Regions from separate parts of the Homo sapiens genome. Here regions 2, 3, 4, 5 and 6 are each linked to region 1. Evidence: promoter capture Hi-C in 16 types of primary human blood cells and fetal thymus (Javierre and others, 2016). All regions are on one chromosome and are shown on one strand. Each heading gives the region's core, a stretch centred on a gene start or on the middle of the fragment in contact. The rest is flanking DNA. Distances are from core to core; before and after follow the strand shown.

Region 1 (2,528 bases), core at 16-2,515:
GCAGAACTGCTCTCAGCAAGCAATTAGGTAGGTCTCTACAGTCATGCAATTAGGATTTAGTGAAGAAAGTCATTAGTTTTAAAATAACTTAAGTTTAATTTCTGCAACGCTTTATTTGAAAACTGTGTCACAGCAGGTCAATTTACAACATGCAATAAAGAAAACACTCATATCAGCTGCCTCAAGTTATTACAAATTTTTGATGTGCATTAAATGAGTACACTGGGTTCCACCCCCGGCCTTTCCAACTGATACGCACGGTCTCCTCCTATAACAGTGTCAAATAATTCAACGCTCAATGTAAATACGAGATAATTTGCTTATGATTCCGTGGTGTGTTTTCGCAACGCCGGCAAACGCGGATCCCACCCCCGAGCGGGACCGGGCCCCGTCTCGGCCTGCTGGCGCCCTGCGGGCTGAGCCGAGCGGGTCCCGGGCAGCCCCCCGCCCTCCCGCGACCCCCCGGGCGCTCGCAGCGGCGACGACAAGCGCGGGGCCGCGGACCCCCGGCAGGGACGTTTTTCTGCAAACTCACAGCATTTGACAAAGTTACATAAACGGCGCCCGGCCGGCCCCGGCGCCCGCCCGCCCCCGCCCTCACTCCCGGCGGCCCGGAGCCCACCTGCTCGGGGGGCGCGGGCCCCGCACCGGGAGACGGCGCCGCTGCCTGCCGTGCCCACCCCCGCGCCCCCGCCCCGGCGGGCGAAGCCGCCTCGCGGCGCGGGTGGAAAGGTCCAGAAGGGGCCGGGCGGCCCTGGGGACCGGCGGGTCCCACGGCGCGCGGCCAGCGCTGGCCCCCGCCTCCCACGGCCGCGCGCGGGGCGGGTGTGGACCGGCGGCGTCCACCTGCCGCGGGCTCCAAGGCCTGCAGGCTGCGCGGGGCGCGGGGCGGGCGGCGGACAATGGCCCGCGGGCGCCGGGCCGGGGCTGCGCTTACCGCGGCGGGCGGCGGCGGCCGGCTCTAGCCCTGCTCCGGCGCTCCGCGCCGCATCTCCTCAGCCTGCGCCGCCACCCGCCGGCGCGCGGGCTCGGGCTCGGGCGGCGACAGCCGGGACGCGGCCACGGCGCCGCCGGGGGCCCAGGCTGGGAGGCTGTTCGGGCGGCGGCGGCGGCGGCGCGGGCGGGTGCGCGGGCTCGGGCTCGGGCTCGGGCGGCGGCGGGGACGGTGCTCCGCGGCGGCGGCCCCACAACCTCCCCTCCTCATTCACAAAAAATTGACCCACGTTGAACCATGATGCTTCTCCCCACTCCAGCGTCGAGCCAGGCGGCGATAGGCCACCCCGCACGCCCGTCAGCCGGCCCGGCCCCGCCCAGCCAGCCGGCGGCTCGCCAACCATTGGCTGCGGCAGCCTTGCGTCACCTCCCCTTGCGGGCCCCGCCCTCCCGCCTGGTTTCTAATGAAGAGCTCGTCAATTACGGCTCGGCCCCGCCTCCCGCCCGCCCGCCCCGGGCGCCTGGCCGGCCTTCCATTGGCCCGCTGAAACCTGCGCACAGCCCGTCTGCTCCCACCCCTCGCCCAGCGGCTGCTCAACCGCGGGGCCGGATGCCCTATGAGCGGCAGAGAGGCTCCACCCCTGCCCGCCTCCCCGCACGCGTCCTGGACCTCATTGGCTGCTGGAGCTGCCAATTCTAGAGGGTGGGGCGTACCAAAAGACGCTCCAGGCGCCAGCCGCTGGGTGCTTCGCGGTTGAGGAGGCGCAGGGACCGGGGGCCAGTAGTGGCCGTAAACACGGGCCCCGGCCGTGTCCGGTCGCACTCGGTAGCCCGCATGGCTGCCTAGCGGTCAGCACCGCATGTCTGCGAGCCTAATTCGCGCTTAGAGGGCACACAATGGGGTGCAGGCTAACGCGGGGAGCCGGCCAGGCCTCGCCGCGGCGTCCATCTTGGATACTGGCAGTGGGTCACGTGGTGCTGCGTGCGCACGGAGGCGCAGGGCGGCCCGGTCACTGAGTGCGCAGGCGCCGTGGGCCTCGCCCTGCCCCGCGGCGGGAACGCGGCCGTGAGGGTGTGGGGTGTAGGTCCGCCAGGCCTGCAACGGCTGCCGAGGGTCGTGGGATGCGCTCGCCGCGTCCCTGCTCAGGCGGAGGGAGCCCGGCCCGCCGCCAGGGTCTCGAGTCCGGGTCCAGGCAGGCGTGGAGGTGGCGGGAACGGCGCACCGCCCGGGTGGGCGTTGTTTTAAGGCCGCAGGGCTTGGGAGGCTTGTGTTGAGTTACAGGTCGGCCCGTAGATCCCCGGAAGCGCCTTTGGTTGCCAGCAGGTGTCGGCGAGGGTCTTCAGTGGCCACCCTCCTGGTGGTGATGTTTCCGTTTCTTTCCAACAGGAGTATGACAACTTTTCAACTTGAGTGCACACACTGTCCCCGGAATCCCGCGTTCCAGGGAGGAAGCGCCTTTGACAGCGCGCGCCGGTTCGTGGGGCCCGACGGCGTGGGCCTGTGGTTGCGGACCTGGCGGAGATGCGCGTTCGCTTCGATTGTAGGCCATTCCTTTTAGGAGCTGAGAAAGGATCCGTTTTTACAGCATTCTCGA
Region 2 (2,528 bases), core at 17-2,516, 600 kb after region 1:
CACACAGCCAGCTAAGGGCTGACCTGACCCTTCCCGTCTCCTCAGTCTGACATGAGGACCCCACAGTGTGCCTACCTTGCTCACCCTTCAGTATCCATTCCACTAACTAGAAAACTGATTTTGCAAATACTATTTTAACAGGGGGGCAGGAATTAACAAACTAAGTAGAATGACTAGTTTTTTTTAATGTAAACCTATTTTTTGCTTATTAATGCTGTACTAAAAACATCAAACAGAAGTGAACTTCTTTTGAGAGACAGAGTCTCTGTCGCCCAAGCTGGAGTACCGTGGCGTGAACACAGCTCATTGCAGCCTCAACCTCCCAGGTTCAAGTGACCCTCCCACCTTAACCTCCCAAGTAGCTGAAACTATAGGCATGCACCACCATACCCAGATAATTTTTAAATTTTTTGTAGAGATGGGGTCTCACTATATTGCCCAGGCTGGTCTCGAACTCCGGGGCTCCAGCAATCCTCCCACTTGAGCTTCCCAACGTGCTGGGTTTACAGACGTGAACGCTGCCTGGCCAGAAGTAAACTTATTACACATTCTGTTTACATTTTGATCAGTGAACTTTTAGTGACATGTGCAGTGAGCCAGCTGTCCCTCTGGTCATCCTAGGAGACTACTGTATCACTCACATCCCATCAGGCAGAGAAAGAAGGTAAGCACCAACGGCCTAAGAACACCAACATCACAGGGCCAAGAACAGAGCTGCCATCTGTAGGCACCAACTTCCTAATTTACATCCAAACGTTGAGGAGAGGGAAGTTGAGTGCCCCGGCCATCCTTGTGCCTCCAGGCCCTCGAGAGGCAAAGTGTTGGTGCAGTCTGCACAGAGCATCCTGGGTAGAGGCAGGAAGCAGCACAGGGCAGGCTCAGGCCAAGGGCTCGAGACTTAACACAAAAGGCAGATCCCCAAATAGCTACTCATGTTTCCTGCATTTTCACAAGTCAAAGACCCTCAAATTACTCCAATCTTGATTTATAAATAATCAGAATTATGATACAACAGCACTTCTCATTACAAAATCATCTCTGAATTTTGTAGAATTTATAGCCCTAAAAGAAATCAAAGTCACTCACTCCAGATACATCTCCTGAGTGCACGCTGGATATGAGGCCTGTACCAGGAACTGGGCGTTGCAGTGATGAGAAGCAGCAGGGGGTGGGTGGTGGAGGACAGACCCAAGCAGGATGAGATTCCCGGGTGGCCAGCACCAGCCAGGACAGAAGAGGCAGAGCTGGGGATCACCGGTGGGAAGGTCAATGCACAGAGACACTGCAAGAGGCAGCCGAGGGATATTTGCTGGGTGTGCAGGGTAAAGGTCTGGGCCAAGACCTACGGTGGTATCCACGCTATCCACAGCTGTGTGACTAGGTACGTCCTCAAGAAACTGAATTCAACGGACGAGACACTGCCCGGGGTCACTGTGCCTGCCAGAGCCCAGCAGCAGGCAGAAGGAACCAGAAAAAGAGAGCCCGGCCCCAGAAGGCAGCAGCTGGTGGAGGAGTGAGAGAGTGGGGGAGGAGGAGGGCATGGAACCAGGAGAAGGGAGTGGAGAAGAGGGGCAGCGGTGCTGCTTCCAGGGCCAGGGAGCAGCATGAAGACAGACAAGGGTCTGCCGCATCTGGAATGGCGAGGCCGTCTCCTTGGCAGGAGCAGTTTCAATAGAGTGGTGCAGATGAAGACAGCTTTTTTCAACCTTACCTAATCGGTATGGTTTTTGTTTTTCATTTAATAGATACCAAAGAATCCACACAATAGCTGAATGGATATAAGTCATATCGTATTACTCCTCTGCTTCAAACCCCCAAACGGCATCTCATCTCATCAGAAGAAAACCCACCAAACGCACCAAGACCTATCCGCCTTCTGCTGTGGCCTCCCCTCCTAGTCCTACCCCCTTCTGCAGTGGCCTCCCTTCCTAGTCCTGCCCTCTTCCACCGCGGCCTCCCCTCCTAGTCCTGCCCCATTCCGCCATGGCCTCCTCTCCTAGTCCTGCTCCATTCCGCTGTGGCCTCCCCTCCCCACACTTTTTCTGGCCACACTGGCTTGGCTGCTGGGCGCACCTTCCCACCACACTCCTGCCTGAAGAGCCTCTGCACCTGCCAAGCCCCTGCCCTCTGCTCACCCCACGGCCCACAGGACCCAATCCTGGCCTCACTTAGGCCTCATCCCGAGAGAGGCCCTTTGTCACCCCTAGCTACTCACCACCCTGTTACTCAGGGTTACTTCTCTCCCTGGCCTTTGTGACCTGACGCAGTTTTATCTATTTGTTTACTCTGTCTCACCTACTAAAACACATTTTCAAAGACATCAAGAATTTTATCTGACACTATATCTCTTAAATCTGGAACGGTGTTGCACATAGTGGAAGCAAAATGCCTGTTAAATTAATAATGGCACTCAATAAATTAAGTATCAGACCAGGGGATTCAGGAGCTGTTTGGAAGAAAAAATACCTCTAAGTATTGGGTTGGTGCTGCTAACACCTAACTTGAAACATAATTATTTCAAACTTCCC
Region 3 (2,528 bases), core at 13-2,512, 580 kb after region 1:
TATTATTTATTACTATTTAATTTCAACTGATCATTTTTTAATATCAAGCAACCGAATTTCCTTAAACAAAATCCTCTAAACAGTCAGACAATTCTTACTCAACAAAGGAACATAAAGGCTGTGGTGTGCATGGGGCTTTCTGGAAAGAGGAAGAGCAGCTTCCAGTGGAGACCCAGCAAGCACGACCTCAGCCAGGAGCCCACGGTCAGGGCCACGGTGCCAGGCTGCACTGACAGCAAGTGCCCCTGATGCTTCACCTCTGTGGATTCCTCCCCAAAACACACAGTCCAATCTAATCGCTAGAGAAACATCGGGCAACCCTCAACTGAGGGAGAGTCTACAAAATACCTCACCAGCACTCCTTATTAAAAACAAAGTCTGAGAAAATGTTACAACCAAGAGGTACCTAAGGAGACATGAGGACCCAATGTCATGTGATATTCTAGACGGGGTATTGGAACAGAAAAAGGACATTAGGGAAAAACTAAGGTAATCTGAATAATTCAAAGTGTGGGCTTTAGTTAACAATAAGGGCCGAATTTGGTGGCTCACACCTGTAATCCCAGCACTTTGGGAGGCTGAGGTGGCCAGATCACTTGAGGTCAGGAGTTTGAGACCAGCCTGGCCATGATGGTGCAACCCCATCTCTACTAAAAATACAAAAATTAGCTGGGCATGGTAGCAGGCACCTATAATACCAGCTACTTAGGAGGCTGAGGCACAAGAATCGCTTAAACCCGGGAGGTGGAGGTTACAGTGAGTCAAGATCATGCCATTGCACTCCAGCCTGGGCGATAGAGTGACAATCGGTTTCCAAAAAAAAAAAACAAAAAACAAAAACCCAGTAAGTATTATTAATTCATTAATTATAACAAGTGTACCATACTCACAGAAGAAGTTAATAAAATGGAAACTGGATGTGAGATATGAGAGCTCACTACTACCGTCACGGTTTTTCTGTAAATCTAAAACTGTTCTAAACATTCAAGTTTACTTTTTGAAATGCTTAGAAATTTAAAAATCGGATTTTCCCAGTCATTTAAATACGATTCAAAATTTTAACATTTCTAAACATTTAATTCAAACCACAAGCCCAATATCATATATTCTCTTAGATTCTCTTTAATGCTCACAAACTGAAAAGCAGACAAAACCACATAAAACACAGTGATTGAAAAACTGCTAGGTGAGCTCACCATGTAACTGTTAAAACGGCTAACACATCTGTCCCCTCCTGAACAACCAAACAGGGGACAATGTAGAAAAGAATTCTACAAAGGCAACATCAGGCTGTAAAGGCAACAGGGCAGGGAGGGCCCTGGATGCCAAGGTCCAGAGAAGAAGCAAACACAGCTGGGCTGCACGTTCCCGTCCCTGAGGCGCTCCCTGGTCCCACCAGCAGAGCCGGGGGGCTGAGAAGCCCGGCAGAGCTTTCAGCAGCAGGAGTGCACTGTGGGGCCAAACATGCAGTTCAGGACCCAACAAAAAGAAGGGACCCTGGCAAAAATGGCCTCTCAGTAAGCGCAAGCTAGAAACACTCCAGACCTCACAAAACGGAAGCCCAGCGTCACCAGCTTGCTTCCTGAGCGCTCTCAGGGGACCTGCCCTGACCTCCATGCCTGCCAGAAGACGGTAAAGCGCATCCTCTCCAGGGTGAGATGACTCCAGGCAAAGTCTCCACAAAAAATGACTGCCATTGGAAAACAACAAAACACCAATGATGAGGCCACCAAACGCCAAGATTAAACAACCCCAAACCAAACGTTAGGGACCAGACCACTCACACAGGCCTACAAAAGACACAGATACTGCAATTATCAGATAATTCTGTGTAACTTTGTGATGAATATGTTTAAGAAATTAGATGACAAAATAATATCAGCAGTAAACTTGAAATTATAACAATGAAAACTCTAGAATCAAAAACAAACCAGGATGAAAATTCAAAACTCAAATATAAGAAATACAGGTCTAACAACAGATTAGAACGAGCTGAAAGGATGATTAGTAACTTGAAAGGCAGTTTAGAAGAACACATCTAGGCTGATGCACACTCAAAAAAAAAAAAAAGACAAGATATACAGAAAGGAGCAGACACACGAAGAATATGGTGCATGGTGAAAAGGTCCAACATATGACCAACTGGAACCGAAAGAGAGCAGAGAGAAAATATGGCAAGAGTAATACAGACACACTGTGGGACGCCAAGGCAGACAGAAAATGTGGCAAGAGCGATACAGACACACTTTGGGAGGCCAAGGCAGGCAGATCACCTGAGATCAGGAGTTTGAGACTAGCCTGGCCAACATGGTGAAAACTTGTCTCTACTAAAAATACAAAAAATTAGCTGGGCATGGTGGCGCATGCCTGTAGTCCCAACTACTCGGGAGGCTGAGGCAGCAGAATCGCTTGAACCTGGGAGGCAGAGGTTGCAATGAGCTGAGATCACACCACTGCACTCCAGCCTGGGTGACAAGAGTGAGATTCTGTCTCAAAAAAAAAAAAAAAAAAAAAAGTGCTACAGACAA
Region 4 (2,528 bases), core at 11-2,510, 570 kb after region 1:
CTGTGCGTCCAAAGGTTGAGATGCAAAGGGCATGCGGTGAACTATCTCAGGTGAACTATCAAGGCCGTACACCCACTTTAAAATGAAAAGAAAATCATTTTCCTCCTGTCAGAAGTCAGGGCTTCTGCCGAGTATACACCGGGTGAGCAAACCAAGAATCCTTAAGGAGCAAAAGAAGAAAGAGCGCCTAACAGAAAAAGGAACAAACCCCTCCAATGCTCATCCTCTGCAATCCCCTCTACTGTACAATGCGAACGGAGTTTCCCTCGCTGGATCTCTAAATTCAAGGCATTTTGGACTCATTACATTCACAGGGCTCTGATAAGTTTAACACTTTCAGGAGGCTCTTTCCCTGTATTCCATTTTCCATTAGAAATCAAAAAGGAAGTTTACTGAAGGGAAAAAAAACCTCAATAAATTACAAAGCCAAACATTCCAAGTCCTCTTCCAGAGCCAAGCAGCTAAGCTGCCCTCCACCCATGACCCTGGCGTGTGTCAGTCCCTGGTGGCCCACCGGGAGTGTTCCAGGGCGAGGCCTGGAGCTGGGAAGGGATTTTAGACAGTGCACTGGGAGGCACCCTGCCCAGTCACCGACAACCTGGGCTGACTCAGTGTACAAACCAAGTTCCTTTCCCTAAGGGCTGCTGGTCACAGGGGGCTGGGCTGGAAATGACAACTCCCCCTGGCCCCCGATGGAGCCCAGACATGGAGGATGAGCAGGGTGGGCTTCCATTCCAGGCTGCAGAGGGTGTGCACATTTGTACTAGCAGATACAAAATGACACATGAGGGTGTGCACACTGCAGCCCAGCCTGCTTGGGGATGTGGCCCAGCCTGTTTGGGAATGTGGATCTGTACTTTCTTCTCCCGGAAAACCCCACAGGACCGGACTTGTTCCCACCCGTGCATCCTGATTCATATACAGGAAAGACTGGAGAAGAGACAGTATTGGACACGCTCATCAAACCCACTCGTGATTTCCCCCAAATATCTGTGTGCAAATCTGTGTGTCAGAAGTCCATGCTTAATGTAAACTAACATGATGATTTTCCTGACCCTCACAGTTAAGAGGGTGAATGGCACACACACACAGGTGCTACCCTCTCCCCCACCAACCGGAAGGCTACAAAGAAACCTGAACCAGGCTGCCTGAGGGAGGGGCCCTGGGCGGCTGGGGAACAAAGAAGGAACATCTCTCATCTTTTGAATTTTACAGCATGTGCAAGGATTTCTTTTTTTTTTTTTTTTTTTTTTCCCTAAGAGAGAGAGATTAAGTAACTTGCTGAGGGTGGCACACGGCCAGTGTGTTCACAGAGCTAGAATTGGAGCCGTGTCCCCTGGCTCCTGAGTCTGCTCCTAACCACTGGCCCATGCTGTACATCACTCTGTGCCTCTTCCAGCCTAGGGCTGTGTCTGTTCCCAGTTTTCCCGTCATAAATAACACCGATGTGCCCCCTCTAGATTTATGTGCTTGAGATAAATTTCTAGAAATGGAACTGCTTGCTTAAGGAAAAACAATAAACAGAGCAATAGATGCTGACGCAGCCATCGGAATGGGTTGAATTTAATAACGCCAAGATGCTGCTCCAGATCATTATGCTGCTGCTTACACTTCGGGGCTGATTCAGAGCCTTGGTTTCTCGTTATGAATTTATACCAGGCTCTTGGCCTTTTACTGCCTCATGCATGGGTCGGCAAACTGTAGCCCACAGATCAAATCTCGCCGCTGACTGCTTCTGTAAATGAGGCCTCACTGGCACAACCTGGCCCATGCATTTACACACTGGCTGGTGGTGCTTTCACACAGCACAGAGCTGAGCGGCTGTGAGAGGCTGTGTGGCCCGCAGAGCTGGGAACCTTTACTCTCTGGCTCTTTAAAGGAAACCTTTGCTGATCACTGGCCTAAGAAAGTACAGGAAGGTAACAACAAGACAGTAAAGCTGAGTCCACGACGTGGTTTAAGTTCACTTAGCCCACAATTACTTCCTAAGTGCCCACAGGTACGAGGTCCTGTGCCGGCTAAGTGCCTACAGGTGCCAGGTCCTGCGCCTGGCAACAGCGGGGAACAGGGTGATTCTCCAGCTCCAGGTGAGGTCGCAGAGGCAGCTGAAACGTGCTGTTCTTTGATCCAAAGTGACGCCACTGAGTTTGTGTGATTCAACGTAAGGACTGGATGAGTTCTGATGTTAGAAAAGTGTCCACTTCTAAATGCTACAGCCAACCTGGGATCTGTGCCATGAGGGCCAAGGCCGCACAATGAGGTTTCTCCCAGGCTCTTCTCTTGGGTGCACAATTTAGACATGCCCTATATAGTGCTTCAAATGCCAGCTGTTCGCACAGAAATCAGTCAAGGAAAAAAATATACACACACACACACACACACACACACACACAGTCACTCATTCTAATGGAGGAAACTCCTTCTACTGGTGAAACGCTGTGTCCTAACTACTTTGAGAGAGATGAACGAAGCCAGTCCTCTCTTCTCTGGCTAGAAAAACCTAGAAATGAGTTGGAATGTGGGAGAAG
Region 5 (2,528 bases), core at 13-2,512, 550 kb after region 1:
CTCACGGACGCTACACCTTCTCCAGCCCAGCTCCAGCTCATCTCGATGAATCCCTTTGTTGTCCACATTAAAGCTTTGAGTTCAACGGCTCCTGACGCTGGTGCAGGACCTCCCTGAAGGAGGCAGGACCGAGGTTTTGTCAGGCACGCCTGACATGGATGTGTGCCCAGGTGTGCTAAATGCACTCACTCCCTTTGGTCAGATTTTGGGGAAAGTCAGAGTGAGGCTCCTGCAGGCAGAGAGAAGGCTACAAGCACAAGCTCTGGGGCCAGAGGGCCCCATGCTGGAAATGCCTGCTGTGTGTCTTTGATGTCCTGCCTAACTTCTCTGAACCTCAGGCCGCCTTTGGTGAAATGAGGATAAGGCCACGGCCTCACAGGGTTGGCGGAAGGAGGGAACCCTGCGTGAAGTGCCAGGGCAGTGTCCAGGAGACGGATGCCCAGCCCATGGTGGTGGGTGCTGTGCCTCCCATGGGACTCCTCAGTCCTGAAGCCCGGTGCTCAGCAGGTAGTGTGGGTGGGATCCTGGGTAAGGAGCTGGGATCCAGGCTGCAGTGCAGCCCCTTCCTCATGGGTACAGAATCCCTGGAGGCCTAGGCCAGGCCATCTGGGGCCGTCCCGCCTGCTCACACTGCTTAGACCAAGGCCCTGGACATTATCTGGCAGCAGGCATCCGAGCCTGGGAATACCAAGAAGTCATACCAGGACAGCCCTATACCAATGCAGGTGCCTAAGGCCTACATCCCACACCAACTCCCAGAGCCCCCAGGGACAGAGCTCCTGAGGCCCACAGAGGAAAATGGCTCAGTGACTGTCCTGTGTGCCTGCCTTCTGCACGCCCCGCTGGGCTTCCTGCAGCCACAGCCAAATGCTCGGCCTAAGGAAGAAGCTGGACAAAGACCGGGAGGCAGCTGCTACCAGATACAGACAGGGACAGTCCCTGCCTCACCAGGGCCCAGTAAGCCCCGCCCTCTCTGCGCACCAGACACAGACAGGGACGGCTCCTGACTCTCTGAGGCCCAGAGCAAGCCCCGCCCTCCCCGCCGAGCCCCAGGCCTCCAGGCCCAGGGTCCTGTGAGGGTCCTCCCGGGGCTCCTCTCACACACCGGCCTTCCTGCTGCCGTGAGCTCCTCCATCCACTGAAGGCCTCAAAGACTATGCAACAGGCCAGCCCAGCTCTTGTTGCCAGATGGCAAGAGGGATGAGGGCTCCAGGAAGCACGGGGTGGTGCCTCAACACGCCCACGGCAGCGACATAACCTGTGGCCCCCAGTGCAAGATGAAAACGGGAGGCTCTGGTCCAAAACTTGTTCAGACTTTCAGGACGGCCACAGCTGAACATTAAATCAAGTGTGGGCCCTTCTTGAGCGTGGGCACTGGGTGAACATGGAGGTCACATGTGCATAGGTGGCCCTGCCCTTCAAGCTGGTCTTCCGAGGCCAAGTTAGCCAATTTACATCCTCTGGTGGTGAGGTGGAGGAGGTGAGGTCGGGGGACAAGCTCTGTCGTCACTACAGCTGTTTGAGCAAAAGTCCAGAGGTTCAGTTAACGGCAGCAAGGTTCAGGATTGTGTACAATTCTTAGGGAAATAGCAGCTCATTTCCACCAACACTTAAGAGCTAGAACCTCCTGGGCCCTGCCCACACGTCCGTCCCTCTTCCCAGCCTCAGCCACGCATTCCAGAGACGAAGCCAGGCTGTGCTCCGGACAATGGCCTCCAGGCTGCTCTTCTCCCTTTGGCCCCTCAAGGCCCTGTTCAGAGGCTCCCTGTGGTCTCATTCAAGGCTGCTCTGCAGCTGGGTCCTGAGCCCCCAGGGGACAGAAAGTAACCGACATCTCCACAGCCTCCGCTCCATGAGTGGCGACGGAAAAGTAACAGGCGTTCAAAACATGCACTCACTTGACGTTGTTCAGGGTCTACAGCCCACTGTCCATTTTGCAGCTGTAAGTGGAGTCGCTGGAAAACCCAATGTAAAAAGCAGCAGGCCTGCCCGAGCAAAGCTGCCAAGGCTAAAAGCCCCAGCCATCTTGAAAGCACAAATACACGTCGGTGGGACCCGGATCCTGACTCGAGCCTCCAGCGTTCCAAATACAAGGACAAACTAGGGATTGCAAAGGTGGCTCAGATGCCAGCCTGACGACGCAACTCAGTATGTCCCTTCATCTTCCACAAATCCAGGCCTCCAGTGTCTGGGACAGAAAAAACTAGAGCCAGCCGAGGTGGCCCTCCCTCCTTGGGGACTTCACCAAGCCTCGAGCCATCCTGGCCTAGGCAGGAGCCAGCAGAGGCCTGTGTATTTATTTTGCAGGGAACAGTTCACACAAAGATAAAGCGTGCAGGAGTCCAGAAGAGAAGGCTCTCTACTTCAAATGCAGTGTCTCAGAAGTCACAGGGCACCCCCTTCTGCCCCTGGAGCCCCCAACCCTTCCTTGCTCCCCTGGAGCCCCCAACCCCAAGCTTCCTGCCTTGCAGGCTTTCTCATTGCTTTAACCCCACGAATGCAATGGACACATGTCCCTCTTTGGGACG
Region 6 (2,528 bases), core at 10-2,509, 520 kb after region 1:
TCTGTCCTATCAGAGTGCCCTTTTTTCAATCTTCCCCGTGATTGGTTACTTTTAGGATCCCTGCTGATTGGTCCATTTTACAGAGCAATGATTGGTCCATTTTACAGAGCGCTGATTGATCCATTTTACAAACCTCTTGCTAGCTACAGGGCACTGATTGGTGTGTTTTTACAGAGCACTGATTGGTGCATTTTACAAACCTCTTGCTACTACAGAGCACTGATTGGCGCATTTTACAATCCCCTTGTAAGGCCAGGCCGAGGAGACCCGGGATGAGGCCGGGTCAGACATTAGTGAGGTTCTATGGATGGAGCTCCAGTTCCCTCTGGGTGAGGCCTCACGGAACCAGGCTCAGCCAGATCTGGGGGCAGGGTGGGGACGGGACACTGCTGGCTCTTTGCTCAGGTCCATCCTCCTGACCCTCTTCCCTCCCTCCTTCCCTCTCTCCTTCCTTTTCTCCTTTCCTCCATTTTTCTGTCCTTCCTTCCTTCTTTCCTTTCCTCCTCCCCTCCCTCCCTCCTTTCCTCCTTCTTTCCTTCCCTCCCTCCTTCCTTCTTTCCTTCCTTCCCTTCTTCCTTCTTTCCTTCCTTCCCTTCTTCCCTCCCTCCCTTCCTTCTTTCCTTCCTTCCTTGCTTGTTTCCTTCCTTCCTCCCTTCCTCCCTTCCTTCCATTTTCCCCTCAATTATAAGCAGTTGCCCCTAAATGAGCTTTTCCTACCTTGCTGCTAAATGTCCTGAGTGTCCCTTTGTCTTTATACCCACTTCTGCTCTGGAGTGGCCAGTTATCTTTGGGTGACTTGGATTCTGTGCTGAAAGGCAGCTAGGCACCTCAGCTGGCCAACCCCACAGTCTGCCTTTCTGCTGACTATGGCTGGGCAGCCTGGGAGCCCTCAATGCCACCACCCAGTCTCAGAGGGGCTCAAGGCAGGCAGTGAGCTGCAGGCCAAGGCATCAGGGACCCCAGGACAGAGAGGAGCACTCACAGACCATGCCCTACCTCCACCTTCCATGACAGGTACACAGAGACAGGTCTTTCTCCCACACATGGATGTCTTTCTCGGATAGTGACCATGTGTTCCTCTAGACAGTACAATGACTTCTCAGGGGATAGAGGCGGTGTCACCTGGGAAAAATCAGAGGCTGGGCATTGCCATTACCACTGTCGTCCGTCAGGTTGACTTTTCTACGCCACAATGCCTTGGTCCTTGGGCTCATCCCAGCCCCTGTACCAACATGATATGACAGCTATGATTCCAGGGACACCTGGTTTAAAATTGATGAGGCAGACTGTGAGGGAGAGTGAAGTGGGTTTCCACCCCAGGTGTCATCCTGGAGCTGTAAGCACCCTAAGAATCCCCGGCCCCATCACAGGTGTGCAGTGTGCCAGCAGGTAAGATGGTAGGGTACGGATACCACACCTTTGCGAAGTAGAAAGGACAATGATTACCATGAGGCTGCAAACCAAGGAGCAACTGGCATTGCCAGGGCTCAAGAACATCAAAGTCTGGTAAATTAGAAGTAAAGGATGGAGGCAGATGTTGGCTTAAAAGAAGAGAAGTATGAGTAGCTATATATGTTATCAGATAAAGTAGGTGTCAGAGCAAAGAAAATTACCAGGGACAAAAGAGGCCATTACATACATCATGATGAAAGGGTCAATATGCAAGAAGACACAGCAATCCAAAATACATAGCCACTGAGCAACACAGCTTCATAATACATAACACAAAAACTGAAAGTAGAAATAGACAAATCCACAAATAAACTTGTAGACTTCAATACCCTTCTCTCAGCAATACAACTGCTAGACACAAAATCAGCAAAGATGCATAAAAACTGAGCACTATCAAACAAAAGTATCTAATATTCTAGACTGCTGCACTTCAAACTGCATAATATACATTCTATACCTATGAAAAATTCCCCAAATAGACCATATCCTGGTTCATAAAAAAAACTGAAACCATACAAAATATGTTCTCTGACCATAAGGAAACCAAAGAAGAAATCAATAACAAAAAGATAACAGGAGTATCTCAAAGCACTTGAAAATTAAACAACAGATTTATAAATAATACATGGGTTCAAGAAATATCCTAGAAGAAAAGTAAATAATACAGAAAAAATAGAAATAAAAACACACACATCAAAATTTGTGGGGTGCGTATTAAATGCTTACATTAGAAAAGAGGAAGAGTCCCAAATCAATAATTTAAGTGCCAAGATAATCTGAATTCCTACACAAATAAGCTAGGAAAAAGGGCACAATAAACACAGAGCAAGAAAAAAAAGAAAAAGAAAATTAAAAAGCAGAAATCAATGAAATTGAAAACAGAAAAATAAGGGAAATCAAGAAAATAAAAACTTGTTTCCATGAAAATATCAATAAAATTAATAAACCTCTAGCAAGACAGACAAAGGAAAAAGAGAGAAGACACAAATTACCAATGCTGGAAATGAAACAGGTGATATTACTACAGACCCTGCAGCCATTAAAAGGAGCAAATATTACAAACATTACTGCACACA

Evidence for each region. Contacts are between HindIII fragments. The CHiCAGO score rates a contact against its expected background, and 5 or more counts as called.
Region 2: a contact is called between a fragment that was not itself captured here and the fragment with the promoter of HDAC4 in region 1, in 6 of 17 cell types (M1 macrophages, M0 macrophages, neutrophils and 3 more). The highest score is 9.6, in M1 macrophages.
Region 3: a fragment that was not itself captured here is called in contact with the fragment with the promoter of HDAC4 in region 1 in 9 of 17 cell types (M1 macrophages, M0 macrophages, M2 macrophages and 6 more); the score reaches 13.6 in M1 macrophages.
Region 4: a contact is called between a fragment that was not itself captured here and the fragment with the promoter of HDAC4 in region 1, in 4 of 17 cell types (M0 macrophages, fetal thymus, M1 macrophages and 1 more). The highest score is 8.9, in M0 macrophages.
Region 5: a contact is called between a fragment that was not itself captured here and the fragment with the promoter of HDAC4 in region 1, in 3 of 17 cell types (neutrophils, M1 macrophages and M0 macrophages). The highest score is 6.8, in neutrophils.
Region 6: a contact is called between a fragment that was not itself captured here and the fragment with the promoter of HDAC4 in region 1, in 3 of 17 cell types (neutrophils, M0 macrophages and M1 macrophages). The highest score is 6.6, in neutrophils.

Annotation. Positions count from the first base shown.
Region 1 is chr2:239,399,755-239,402,282 of GRCh38, forward strand. HDAC4 (histone deacetylase 4) reads right to left here and starts at 1,266. Exons shown (of 27, transcript NM_001378414.1): 1 at 1,224-1,266. It overlaps HDAC4-AS1 (HDAC4 antisense RNA 1), which reads left to right and starts at 1,682. Exons shown (of 2, transcript NR_135575.1): 1 at 1,682-1,782; 2 at 2,321-2,528. RefSeq lists silencers at 915-1,084, 1,095-1,534, 1,555-1,674, 1,945-2,214 and an enhancer at 2,345-2,474. The HindIII fragment of the contact is 12,493 bases long and covers 1-2,528 here.
Region 2 is chr2:240,002,619-240,005,146 of GRCh38, forward strand. All of the region lies in intron 8 of NDUFA10 (NADH:ubiquinone oxidoreductase subunit A10), which reads right to left. Among named protein-coding and RNA genes, the nearest start is that of NDUFA10, 21 kb to the right of the region's middle. The HindIII fragment of the contact is 5,215 bases long and covers 1-2,528 here.
Region 3 is chr2:239,983,419-239,985,946 of GRCh38, forward strand. All of the region lies in intron 9 of NDUFA10 (NADH:ubiquinone oxidoreductase subunit A10), which reads right to left. Among named protein-coding and RNA genes, the nearest start is that of NDUFA10, 41 kb to the right of the region's middle. The HindIII fragment of the contact is 6,987 bases long and covers 1-2,528 here.
Region 4 is chr2:239,965,618-239,968,145 of GRCh38, forward strand. All of the region lies in intron 9 of NDUFA10 (NADH:ubiquinone oxidoreductase subunit A10), which reads right to left. Among named protein-coding and RNA genes, the nearest start is that of MIR4786, 24 kb to the left of the region's middle. The HindIII fragment of the contact is 8,260 bases long and covers 1-2,528 here.
Region 5 is chr2:239,946,567-239,949,094 of GRCh38, forward strand. It overlaps a transcript of NDUFA10 not described here. Among named protein-coding and RNA genes, the nearest start is that of MIR4786, 4.7 kb to the left of the region's middle. RefSeq lists an enhancer at 1-91. The HindIII fragment of the contact is 2,383 bases long and covers 72-2,454 here.
Region 6 is chr2:239,921,450-239,923,977 of GRCh38, forward strand. It overlaps a transcript of NDUFA10 not described here. Among named protein-coding and RNA genes, the nearest start is that of MIR4786, 20 kb to the right of the region's middle. The HindIII fragment of the contact is 2,710 bases long and covers 1-2,528 here.